Linked DNA regions of Homo sapiens: regions 1 and 2 are each linked to region 3. The links are contacts of gene promoters, found by promoter capture Hi-C in human tissues and cell types (Jung and others, 2019). All regions are on one chromosome and are shown on one strand. The core of a region is centred on a gene start or on the middle of the fragment in contact, and the rest is flanking DNA. Distances in the headings are between cores, read along the strand shown. Region 1 holds the start of P4HTM (prolyl 4-hydroxylase, transmembrane). Region 2 holds the start of DALRD3 (DALR anticodon binding domain containing 3). Region 3 overlaps PRKAR2A (protein kinase cAMP-dependent type II regulatory subunit alpha).

Region 1 (4,411 bases), core at 525-3,024, 170 kb before region 3:
CCCTACAAACAGCATGCATATGACATCATTCTGACAGGTCTAGGCATAATCCCCAACCAGGACCCTCTGCCTTGGAGGTAATGACTTGTGCTCAGATGTTCTACTTTGGCCCCAGCTCCTAACCCATTCCATCCCCCGGCAGGCAGGAATGGCCCTGGGTTTGCAAATATGTTTGTCACGGAGGCCAGGTACCCAGGGCTGGGCTACACAAACACCCTGGACAATGTCCATGGGACTAGGGGTCCCCACCCAGTTGACACTGGTGGTCTTTGAAGGACTCTGGGGTCTTCACAGCTCGCACTGTGGCTTTACTGCATAGGCCTTAGAGGCAGGCTATGTGGGTTCTAATCCTAGCTTCACCACTGAAGTAACCGTGTCAGCCTGGCCAAGCCACAGCAGCTCTCTGTCCCTAACTTTCCCCCTCACTGGCCTGAGTAGGATCTACACCCACTTCACAGAGGGGTTGCAGGAATTAAATGAAATAATCATATGAAGGCAAGCACATAACTAGAGCTCAGAAACGATGAGCTATGTTGTGGCTCCAACTGGAGTCACCCTAGAAAGCTTTGCCCATGATGGCTGAACAAAGACTTCACCTTAAGAAGAATCTCAGAGTGCTGGCAGCAAAAGCTGAGCCTCTGACTGGTACTCCAGTGGAGGAGGCTGGGGGGGTACCAGTTTATCTACATTTGGACGGCCTGCTTCTCATCAGACCACAAGGCCCACTTCGGCAGTGGGATTTTCCCCAGAGGTCCTGAGGTCGGCAGAAAGCTGGTTATCAGTCTCCCACCTTCCTCCCAGTTCTAGAAGGTGACAGAATTAATGGTGGCACGGAAGACAGGTGCAATGAAACGTTTAGACACCAGCCTCAGGCTCACCCTGCCAGCCCTGTGATGGAAGAATGGACTGCAGGGAGTTGGGATAAGAGGGAGTGTTACCCTATTTCGAGGACGGGGAAGGTCCTTCACTTTGGTAATCCTCTGGAAGGGCTGCTCTGAAGCAGCCATTTTCAAAATAGAGGTCACGTGGTCACAACGAGCCTCAAGGTGGCCACCAAACCGCAGCCCCTGGCCCTTCCCAGGAGTATCTGGCGGACTTACCGAAGAGCAGCGGCTTGAGGCTGAGGGTTCGGATGAAGTGATCCCTGTCGGTGACCAGCTGGACCTTACGCTCGTGCCCCACCTAAGGAAAAGGCGCACAGCGGGCAGCTGGGGCGCCAGACCGCGCTGCCCAAGAAGGGCCAAGTCGCCCCGGCCCGGAGAGCGACAGCAGGCGAGTGAGTGGGAGCGCGCGGGACCGACGCAGAGCAGCGCCGGGGGCAGCGTGGGGACCCGGGCTGAGCGCCGGTCCTCTCGGGCTCAGCCGTGCAGGGCCTGGAGCGCGGCGGGGCAGGGAGGTCCTCACCTTGATGCCCTCCAGCCGGGTGAGGGGACCTAAGGTGGGCTCGGGCCCGGGGCCCTGGGCACGGTGTTGGGGCCCGGGATCGCTGCTTTCGTCGCCGTTGCTGTAGTGCACGAAGAGCAGCAGCGCCAGCACGTTACCCAGGTACAGGTGCACGAACACCATCAGCACCAGGAAGTAGGCGCGCGAGCAGATGCCGCGGGGCTTGCACAGCGGACGCACCGGTGCGTCCTCGCCGTCGCCCAGCCCGGCCGCCGCCTGAGCCTGGCAGTGGTCTGGCGGCGCCCACTGCGGCCTCGAGGCCTCCTCGGCCGCCGCGGTCTCAGGCCGCTGGCCTGTCACCGCCGCTGCCGCCATGGCACCCAGGTCGCGCGCGCGCCCAGGGGAGGGGCCGCGGGGGTGCCCGCGCTGCGCAGTCGCCCGGACAACGGCCGCCAGGCCCGCGAGCGCCGCGGTCACTAGGAGACGGTGCCTGGGGGTGCTGAGCCCGCCCGGAGCCGCCTGCGTCCGCGCCGGGCTCGGCCTTCCTGCGCCTTGAGCCCCAGCCCACGCTGGGGCTTCTCTTCCCAAGCTGGGTTGCCGTCGGGCAGAGCTGTACACTCTCCAAGTCAGAAGCCAAGGTCCCAAGCGTAGACGCGGACAAGAGCGGCACCATTAAGGCATACACTAGTGGGAGCTTCTCGGTGCCTGCGTGAAGACGCCCTCTTGCCTCCGGGAAAAGTATCGTCTGCATCTTCTTGCTCCAGGAGCGGGGGTGGGGAGCGCAGCGCGGAGGAGGCAGCGCTGAGATGACTCAACAGTGCGGCATTTGGGGGCGCCGCGGAGGCTGGGACTGCGTAAGCGGCGATAGGGTAGGACCCACAGCCTCCTCGCAGGCATTCTTGGAGCTCGGTTCCGCGGTCGGTCCGGATCTCCCGGGAAGTCTCGCCGGAGTCAGGCAGGCCTTAGGAAGAAGCTGCCTGATGTGCAAGGTTTCATAGGCCGTCAGAGGGGGCATCCTGGAGGAGCCCTGGCATCAGGAAAGTGAGCCCCCCATGGCAGCCCGCAGGAATGAACCAGTGCTCAGGTATATGGAACACTCCTTGCATCAAAGCTGGCACGTGTGAAGAGGCGGGAAGGGACTCTTCCATAACTGAGACACCATTACCTCAGAGAAAAATTAAACAGATTATCACCAAAAACGGGGGTGGGGGGAGGACATACCTACCAGTGGTCAAGTGCCAAGGCATCCCTGCTCTTCTAGAGCTGGTTATCCTCAGGAAGAGATTACTACACGCCCTCAGGGCAGAAGCTGACCCCCCTCCCCGAGGTGGACTTGCAGGCAAGAGCAACACTTTTAAGGCAGGTCACACTGGTGGTTTCTCCCTACCCTGGTTAAGACCCCCACTACCTCTACTCCCATCTCCTCTCCCTTCCCCATAGCAAAGCATAGTCTGCATTTTCTAGTCCCCTCAAGTCAAGGCAGGCCAGGGGCTCCAAGGGCAGGCCCACCTCTTTCTTCTAAGATTTTTTGTGTGTGTGTGACGGAGTCTCACTCTGTCGCCCAGGCTGGAGTGCAGTGGCGCGATCTTGGCTCACTGCAACCTCTGCCTTCCGGGTTCAAGCAATTCTCCTGCCTCAGCCTACCAAGTAGCTGGCATGCGCCACCATGGCGGGCCAATTTTTTTTTTTGTATTTTTATTTATTATTATTTAGTTTTAATTTTTTAATTATAATTTTTTTTTTTTTTTTGATACAGAGTCTCGCTCTGTCGCCAGGCTGGAGTACAGTGGTGTGATCTCAGCTCACCGAAAGCTCCGCCTCCCGGGTTCAAGCAATTCTCCTGTCTCAGCCTCCCAAGTAGCTGGGACTACAGGTGCCCGCCACAATGCCCGGCTAATTTTTATATTTTTAGTAGAGACAGGGTTTCACCATGTTGGCCAGGCTGGTCTCAAACTCGTGACCTCAGGTGTTCCACCCACCTTGGCCTCCCAAAGTGCTGGAATTACAGACATAAGGCACCACACCCAGACCAAATCTCCTAAATTCTTAAATATAATAAACCAACCAACAGAACCATAATTTTACCAAGGATCTCATGGCTTTCTCATACCTTTTCTGGAATGAAGTTGAGACTATTTCCCTCTAGCCTTTTTTTTTTTTCCCCGAGACAGAGTCTTGCTCTGTCACCCAGGCTGGAGTGCAGTGGCTTCATCTCGGCTCACTGCAACCTCTGCCTCCCGGGTTCAAGCAATTCTCCTGCCTCAGCCTCCCAAGTAGCTGGGATTACAGGCACGTGCCACCACGCCCAGCTAATTTTTATATTTTTAATAAAGATGGGGTTTCACCATGTTGGCCAAGCTGGTCTCAAACTCCTGACCTCGTGATCCGCCCGCCTTGGCCTCCCAAAGTGCTGGGATTACAGGCATGAGCCACCGCGACCGGCCCCTCTAGCCTTTTAAAAACTAGAATTTGATCACCATAAAATCTGTACTTTGCTTAACCTATTTTCCTGAACTCCATTCTTACACCTATTACCTGAACTAGGCCTACCACTAAGCACAGGTACTGATAGCTCATTGCCAGACAACAGAAAGCAAGCAGGTTGCAGGGCTGCTCCACCTGCTGTCAGCTGTGGGAATTTCACAACCACATCAGAAACCAGAATTTCTCAGTCTTTTAAAAGCCTGGCCCTTTGATGCCATGACAATACATACTACCAAATCCAGGCCTTCTATTGATCTGTATTCTTTTTTTTTTTTGAGGTGGAGTCTCGCTCTGTCGCCCAGGCTGGAGTGCAGTGGTGCCATCTCGGCTGACTGCAAGCTCTGCCTCCCGGGTTCACGCCATTCTCCTGCCTCAGCCTCCTGAGTAGCTGGGACTACAGGTGCCTGCCACCACGCCCGGCTAATTTTTTTGTATTTGTTTTTTAGTAGAGATGGGGTTTCACTGTGTTAGCCAGGATGTTCTCGATCTCCTTGCCTTGGCCTCCCAAAGTGCTGGGATTACAGGAGTGAGCCACTGTGCCTGG
Region 2 (4,137 bases), core at 293-2,792, 200 kb before region 3:
TGGCCCAGAAAGGGGCCTTGCCAAGCTTTTCCTGCCCCTGGGTTTCCCTGCTCTCCGGATTTCCCAACTCTCTCTACTGAGTTAGCTTCTCTATTAAAAGGAATGGGGGTGGGGTGGGGGGTGAGTAAGTTACAGTGAAATGAAGACATTTGGGAACCTTTGTGGGAGAAAGAAAAAGACCTTTCCTATTGGTAGAGGAGCAAGATACTCCAACTGAGGCCTATTTTCTATTATGGTCGCATTATTTGGTTGGCCCGTAAATGGCTGTTGCCTAAAACAGGAAGCTTTAAGGATCGTTGTTAAAGCACACCAGGTTAAAGGAGTCACATTAAAAGCTGGTCATTCTGAGCCGGGCGCGGTGGCTCACGCCTGTAATCCCAGCACTTTGGGAGGCCGAGGCAGGCGGATCACCTGAGGTCGGGAGTTCGAGGCTTGACAAACATGGAGAAACCCCGTCTCTATTAAAAATACAAAAGTAGCCGGGCGTGGTGGCGCGTGCCTGTAATCCCAGCTACTTGGGAGACTGAGGCAGGATAATCACTTGAACCCGGGAGGGGGAGGTTGCGGTGAGCCAAGATCACACCACTGTACTCCAGCCTGGGCAACAGGAGCGAAACTCCGTCTCAAAAAAAAAAAAAAAAAGTCTGGTAATTCTGGAAGCCATCATGATGGTTGTGATTTCTCAGGTATCAAGAGAAGAAAACCGCCAACTGTATCAGAGTGCTTATTTATTGGGCATAAAGACCACCCGGGCTGGGTGCAGTGGCTGATGCCTGTAATCCCAGCACTTTCGGAGGCCGAGGCGGGCAGGTCACGAGGTCAGGAGTTCGAGACCAGCCTGGCCAACATGGCGAAACCCCGTCTCTACTAAAAATACAAAAATTAGCCGGGCGTGGTGGCGGGCGCCCGTAATCCCAGCTACTCGGGAGGCTGAGGAGGAGAATCCTGTGAATCCGGGAGGTGGAGGCTGCAGTGAGCCGAGATCGTGCCACTGCACTCCAGCCTGGGAGACAAGAGCAAGACTCCGTCTCAAACAAACAAAAAAACACCCATATCTCAAACGAGAAAATGCTTGCAAATAACCTGAAACCGCGGAACACTATTCTTTTTAAAACGAGATATTTTAAGTAGGTCGTGAAAGTGGCCTTAATGTTATACTGCCTTATTCCAGTGACGAATATTCATCATGTGTAAAATGGGAGAAATGAAATGTTATTAAAACAAACATGTGAGACTTCGATGAGAAGAGACGGTACCCGGTCTAAGCGCCCACCGGGTCGCGAGGATCCTTTTCCTGGTTAAGGCCTGGGTCACAGCGAAAGAACCCTAGGCCCAGGGAGGGCCCCGAGATTTCAGATCCGGGGCCCGGCTGTGCAGGTGGACCACGCGGAAGGGGCGCTGGGGGCGGTAGGTCGAAAGCAGCCGACAGGGCTACCACTGGCGCACCTGTCCACTTACGGGGACCACCGCCGCATCCCCGCCCCAGCTAGTCGGTCCTTTCCGGAAGTTCCACCTCCCTAAATTTTTTTCCGGTTCCGCTTACTCCTTCCGGTCACCATGGCGACCAGGCGCCTTGGGGTCGGGGAGACGCTGGGGGCCCTCAACGCGGCCCTGGGGCCAGGCGGTCCGGTGTGGATCAAGGAGACGCGCACCCGCCACCTGCGTTCCCGAGACTTTCTGGCACCGCACCGCGCGCTGCAGGCGCGCTTCGATGACGGCCAGGTGGGCGTGAGCCGGGCGGGGCCGTGCGGCCGGGAGATGGGCCCCGTGCCGTGGCTCTTTTACACGCCCGTTCTCCCGCAGGTTCCGGAGCATTTGCTCCATGCCCTCGCCTGCCTGCAGGGCCCCGGTGTGGCCCCGGTGCTGCGCTGCGCGCCGACCCCCGCGGGTCTGTCTCTCCAACTGCAGCGGTCCGCCGTCTTCGAGCGCGTCCTCAGCGCCGTGGCCGCCTATGCCACGCCCGCCTCGCCTGCCTCGCTGGGCCAGCGCGTCTTACTACACTGCCCAGCACTGCGCAGCTCCCCCTGCGCACTCCGCTTGAGCCAGCTGCGTACGGTGCTCGTGGCCGATCACCTGGCGCGAGCCCTGCGCGCTCACGGGTGAGCGGGGCCGCGGGGCCGGAATGGAGAAAGTGGGACTGCCGGGTACCTAGAAAGCGAGCGGCGCCGCCCGTGGGGACTGCGGCTGGAGGTGGGAAGTCGTGGCGAGCTGGACCAGGTGCTCAGACTGAGGCGGCCGCCCTCCCTTCGCAGGGTGTGCGTGCGCCTAGTGCCAGCTGTGCGGGATCCGCACATGCTGACCTTCCTGCAGCAACTGCGGGTGGACTGGCCCGCTGCCTCGGAGAGAGCTTCCTCCCACACCCTGAGGAGCCACGCCCTTGAAGAACTTACCTCTGCTAATGACGGGAGGACACTGTCCCCTGGCATCCTAGGCAGACTGTGTCTGAAGGAGCTGGTGGAAGAACAGGGCCGCACAGCTGGCTATGACCCCAACCTGGACAACTGTCTGGGTAGGACCTGAAGCCTAGCAGGGCCAGAAAAGGCAGGAGGGGGTTAGGGGCACATCTCTGCTTCTTGTCAGTCTCAGCACCTGTCTGTTCTCTTTTCAGTGACTGAGGATCTCCTCTCTGTGCTGGCTGAGCTGCAAGAGGCTCTATGGCATTGGCCCGAGGACAGCCACCCAGGCCTGGTTAGTGACTCCCAGCCCTGTAGGTTCTCCCAAACCAAGTATACTGTACTTCCACAGTTATGATTGTCCTCCCTTAGGCTGGGGCCTCAGATACTGGTACAGGCGGCTGCCTGGTTGTACATGTTGTTAGCTGTGAGGAGGAGTTCCAGCAACAGAAGTTGGACCTGCTTTGGCAGAAGTTGGTTGACAAGGCTCCACTCAGACAGGTAGGTTAATAATGATGGTGGAGCTCCCCACCACCTAACCCCCAACCTCAGAGGGCCCTTGAAAACCCACCGAGGGGCTTGTTAGCTGACAGAAACCAACACTTGACCTTGGGGGAGTTGCTGGACTTGAGAGGGCATGTACAGCAGGTGCAGAGGCTCTGGGGAAGGGGGGTCTGTAGACACATCCCAAGAACACTGAAGACCAGGTTGAGAAGGATGAACCATGCGTAGCCTGAGTGGCTGGGTAGACGGAGGCACTCAACCTGGCAGTTCCAATTTGAGGGAGTCTGGGCTGAGTAGAGGCACCAGATTTGGGCTCCTCAAGGGACTTCCTGGAGAGTAGCGCCAACTAGGCTGAGCCCCTGACATCTTTCTGACAGAAGCACCTCATCTGTGGCCCTGTGAAAGTAGCTGGTGCACCTGGCACTCTGATGACTGCCCCTGAGTACTACGAGTGAGTGAGGCTGGGAGGAACACCAACCTAAGCCAGGGTAATGAGGGGGGACTCTTTACCCAGGACCCTGCCCACTGGCCTTCCTCTCTTCCAAACACAGGTTCCGGCATACCCAGGTGTGCAAGGCCTCAGCACTGAAGCATGGTGGGGATCTGGCACAAGGTGTGCCTGGGAAACCCTGGCTATGTTCTGGGTTAGGGGCAGGTTTTTTGCATCCCTGCCCTTGCCTGCAGACTGACTGACCAACCCTATACTCCCTCAGACCCAGCCTGGACAGAGATCTTTGGTGTTCTCTCTGTGGCCACCATCAAGTTTGAGATGCTGAGCACAGCCCCACAGAGTCAGGTGAGCCTGGGAGCCTGACAGGGCCAGTGTTGGGGCACAGGGTGTGGTGGCTGCCTTCTCTCTCTGCAGCTGTGCTTCTATTCCCCAGCTCTTCCTGGCTCTGGCTGACAGCAGTATCTCCACGAAGGGCACAAAGAGTGGCACCTTTGTCATGTATAATTGTGCCCGTCTTGCCACACTCTTTGAGAGTTACAAGTGTAGTATGGAACAAGGTCTGTACCCCACTTTTCCTCCTGTGAGCAGTCTGGACTTCTCACTGCTACATGATGAGGTGAGTGTCCCTCCTGGTAGCTGGCACAAGGAGGCCTGGACTTCCCCTCCCAGCACCTTTCTCCCCAACAGGGTGAGTGGTTGTTGCTCTTCAACAGTATCCTCCCCTTTCCGGATCTGCTGAGCCGGACAGCAGTGCTGGACTGCACAGCCCCGGGGCTCCACATTGCTGTA
Region 3 (4,091 bases), core at 549-3,048:
TGAAGAACTGGTCTGAGGCAGTGCCAGGCTGGATGCTGGGAAACTCCATTTTTTTTTTTTTTTTTTTTTGAGACAGAATCTTGCCCCGTCACCCAGGCTGGAGTGCAATGGTGCAATCTTGGCTCACTGCAACCTCTGCCTCCCTGGTTCAAGGGATTCTCCTGCCCCAGCCTCCTGAGTAGCTGGGATTACGGGCATGCGCCACCATGTCCAGCTATATTAGAGATGGGGTTTCGCCATGTTGGCCAGGCTGGTCTCGAACTGACATCAAGTGATCTGCCCGCCTTGGCCTCCCAAAGTGCTGGGATTACAGGCGTGAGACACTGCGCCTGGCCCTGTTTTCATTCTTTTTTTTTTTTTTTTCTGACATGGAGTGTTGCTCTGTCGCCCAGGCTGGAGTGCAGTAGTGCAATCTCGGCTCACTGCAACCTTCACCTCCCAGGTTCAAGCGATTCTGCTGCCTCAGTCCCCTAGTAGCTGGGACTACAGGTGCACACCACCATGCCCGGCTAGTTTTTGTATTTTTAGTAGAGACAGGGTTTCACCATGTTGGCCAGGCTGGTCTCAAACTCCTGACCTCGCGATCCGCCCGCCTCGGCCTCCCAAAGTGCTGGGATTACAGGCGTGAGCCACTGTGCCTGGTCCTGTTTCCATTCAAAAGGGAGTTCTTGACTGTCTTTCAAGGGTGTGGTAAAACTTAAAGATAATGTATGCTAAATATCTAGTGTCTGGTGTGATAACTGTAATTGGTTGTTTAATCATTTCTATTGATCCTAGAACTCATATCTCTCAAGAACTCATATCTCTAAAAACCAGGGAACTTGCATATTTAAAAATTCTTGGGAAATTGGATTATCAGTAAGAGTTTTGATTGGAAAATACAGAATTGTAACAGGAAAAATAGCAATAGCTGGAAGGGAGTGGGGATGGGTAGGAGGAGGTATTTCCCTAGTTCTGGGAGCATGAAGCAAAGCTGGTCTTTACAGCAGAGAATGATCCTTTTAGGTCTGGATAGCTGGTGTTCCTAGAGTTGAAGTTTCTGCCCCTGGGTAAGTAGTGCTCTGTGTCATCTCTGACTTGACCCACAATCCCCACCACTCCTTGCTCTGATCTTGCCACAGTCAGATCCTATACTTAGGGAGACGTTCTTTCTCTTTCTGTGAGGCATGGCTTACGCTGGACTAATCATTCCACCCTTGTCCTACTGTTACAGTCTGTGTTTAGGAGTAAATGGGGGAGTAATTAAAACTGTGTGATTGGAGATGGTCATGGCATTGCCCCTGACATAGGGAGCCTGGAGTAACAGGAACTGTGAAGTTTATTGGTTCTATTCTGGACCTATTGAATTTCAGGTCCAACTCAGGGAGTTGGAGTTCCAGCTGGCATTTAGCCAACATTGGGAATGTGGGTCTGGAGAGCACAATGGTCATGAGTCAAGCTCACTTTTTCACATTTCTTTTCCTTTGCATATGCCTTCCCTTCTGCCTGGAATGCTGTCCTCCCCTTCTTGTTTCTCTGCTGAACTGCTACTTGTCTTTTATCAACCAGTTCAAGGGTTTCCTTTTCTGCACAGCAGCAACCCTATGAGGTAGGTGCTATTATTATCCTGGTTTTATAGATGAGGAAAGTGAGGCACAGAGGTTAAGTAACTTATTCAAGGTCACACTGCTAGTAAGTGAGGTGACTGGATTTGAACCCAAGCAGCCTGGCTCAGAATCTATGCTTATAACTACTTCATTCTTACTGGTTTCTAGGTACTTGGTAAGTACTTATCATATGAATCGAGTGTTCACAGTAGTCATCTATGTGCAAGAGAATTAAGGAGTCAGGTTCTCTGTTTTAGGACAGTATTTCCAGTGAGACAAAAGGCAATCCCCAAATGTTTCCTAATGTGTTCCCTTTTCTCCATTCCCGTTACCATTCAAGCTTTCTTCATTTTTTTGTCAGGAATATTACAGTAGGCCCATTACTGGTCTTCCCACTCCGTGTCTTATTCCATTGGTGATACTATTATTAGAATAATCTTTCCAAAATGCATGTATGACCCTCTTATTCCCTTGCGGTAGATCTACTCCATTGGCTCCACAGTGCCTAAAGCAGTTCCTGATCCAAACTAAAGAGCGAGCTATTCTGTATCCCCAGTTTAGAATATTCCAGAGAAGGAATGGCTTGGGTTGGGTCATATTCCGTTTTTGGAATAAGTTACCATGAATGTTCTATGCTTGTTCCAAGCAAGTTACCATGCTTAAGAACACTGATTTGCCTGGCTTGGATCATGCACCCTATCCTATGACCAAATTGGAAGTAGTAGGCAGAGTTGGGAGTGAAGTCCCACAAGGACTTCACATCTGTGAGAGGCCACTCCTAAAGGATAACTCTGGTTACCTAACTAGGAGAAGGTAGGGGTTTGGAGTAGTGTCACAGGAGGTGGGTTGACACAGTGGTATGGCTGAACACTGTTGTGGCCTTCAGCCTCCCCACTGCCTTCCTGTGTTATTTCAGCAGATGTCCACTCTGGTCAGCACTGGGACAGGGGAGGATAAAAGTGCACTTGACTATAGGAGCTTATCATCTGTCTGGTAGGGGCAGCAGTAAGCAAACAGGCAACATGATCCTTCCACAGGAAAAAGCTGGGGGGATTCTAATAAACATTATATTGCTAAGGATCCATAATTAAATAATGGAATGGTGGAATTTATTTCAAAAAATGTAAAACAAGTATTTTATTGATTCACACTTTTACTTTTCCTCAGTTGTCAAATTTAGATGACTCAGATTCTGGCTTGACCACTTCCTAGCTGTGTGACCTTGGGTACAATTCTCTGAGTCTCAGTCTCCTCAGCTACAAAATGGGATGGTAATAGGGTTGTTGTGAAGGGTATATGTGATGATGCATTTAAAATGGTTGGCATAATACTTGCACGTAGTGGGACTCAAAAATTGTAACTAACAAAAAATGTTTGAGGGTGGGCGTTGTGGCTCATGCCTGTAATCCCAGCACTTTGGGAGGTCAAGGCTGGCGGATCACCTGAAGTCAGGAGTTCGAAACCAGCCTGGCCAACATGGTGAAATCCTGTCTCTACTAAAAATACAAAAATTAGCCAGGTGTGGTGGTTGGCGCCTGTAATCCCAGCTATTTGGGAGGCTAAGGCAGGAGAATCGCTTGAGCCCAGGAGGCGGAGGTTGCAGTGGGAGGTTGCAGTGAGCAGAGATTGCACCACTGCACTCCAGCCTGGGCAACAAGAGCGAAACTCTGTCTCAAAAAAAAAAAAGTGTTTGAACAGGGTATACGTGGCAGAATAGCAGCTGTGAAAAAAAATGTGAAACTGCAGTATTTTAAAGATAGATAATTTTGAAAAACCAGCAAACAAACCCTCCACAAAACTATGATATCCCTAACATTTTACTGTCTCAGTACTTCTATACATAGGGTCATTAAGTCTGCCCTCGGGTCATTTGTGGTAAGTAGTACTACCCTTATTGAATTTGTGAGAATACTGAGGCTCAGAGAAGTTTAAGTTCTCTTTTCTTTTTTTTGAGACAGGGTCTTGCTGTGTCACCCAGGTTGGAGTGCAGTGGTGTAATCACAGCTCAAGCTCCCTGGCTCAAGCCATCCTCCCACCTCAGCCTCCCAAGCAGCTGGCACTGTAGGTGCACACCACTGTGCCTGGCTAATTAAAACATTTTTTTTTTGTAGAGACAGGGTCTCACTCTGTTGCCCAAACTTGTCTCGAACTCCTGGGCTCAAGCAGTCCTCCCTGCCTTGGCCTCCCAAAGATTATGGGTGTGAGCCACTGCACCTGGCCAGGTTTAAGTTCTGAAGCTAGAATGCAAACCTGTCTTTTGTGGTGAAATCTTATTACTGTTACCCTTGCTTTGTTCTCCAGAGTGTTGTCAGATATTAAAAATGAATGGCTTATATTGTAAAATGACAGACTAAAGATTAGTGGTATAGTTTTGATTATTTGAAAATATAGCAGATAATTCTTGTACAAATAATTCGGCAGGGCAGCTCTTCGGCTTTTGGTTTCTTAATAGGCTGATTTTTGCTTTTAACAGGATGCCTTGGGTATGGTTGGAAGTGCCTACCT

Evidence for each region. The method cuts DNA at HindIII sites, captures the fragments that hold promoters and counts their contacts. A contact is called where the count stands out against the background at its distance.
Region 1: the fragment with the promoter of P4HTM here is called in contact with a fragment that was not itself captured in region 3 in 3 of the 25 tissues and cell types used here (liver, mesendoderm cells and psoas muscle).
Region 2: a contact is called between the fragment with the promoter of DALRD3 here and a fragment that was not itself captured in region 3, in 1 of the 25 tissues and cell types used here (aorta).

What each region holds. Positions count from the first base shown.
Region 1 is chr3:48,987,604-48,992,014 of GRCh38, reverse strand. It overlaps P4HTM (prolyl 4-hydroxylase, transmembrane), which reads right to left and starts at 1,774. Exons shown (of 9, transcript NM_177939.3): 1 at 1,405-1,774; 2 at 1,101-1,182. The coding sequence starts at 1,758. It overlaps LOC124909376 (a long non-coding RNA gene), which reads left to right and starts at 2,143. Exons shown (of 2, transcript XR_007095903.1): 1 at 2,143-2,467. RefSeq lists enhancers at 802-1,363, 2,021-2,180, 1,928-2,490, 2,491-3,054 and a silencer at 1,531-1,910. The HindIII fragment of the contact is 19,056 bases long and covers 1-4,411 here.
Region 2 is chr3:49,015,985-49,020,121 of GRCh38, reverse strand. It overlaps DALRD3 (DALR anticodon binding domain containing 3), which reads left to right and starts at 1,542. Exons shown (of 12, transcript NM_001009996.3): 1 at 1,542-1,722; 2 at 1,804-2,099; 3 at 2,253-2,509; 4 at 2,609-2,688; 5 at 2,766-2,894; 6 at 3,275-3,348; 7 at 3,449-3,510; 8 at 3,611-3,693; 9 at 3,782-3,964; 10 at 4,036-4,137. The coding sequence starts at 1,558. RefSeq lists a silencer at 2,312-2,546 and enhancers at 1,995-2,766, 3,052-3,121. The HindIII fragment of the contact is 18,150 bases long and covers 1-4,038 here.
Region 3 is chr3:48,818,189-48,822,279 of GRCh38, reverse strand. All of the region lies in intron 1 of PRKAR2A (protein kinase cAMP-dependent type II regulatory subunit alpha), which reads left to right. Among named protein-coding and RNA genes, the nearest start is that of PRKAR2A, 28 kb to the left of the region's middle. The HindIII fragment of the contact is 9,279 bases long and covers 1-4,091 here.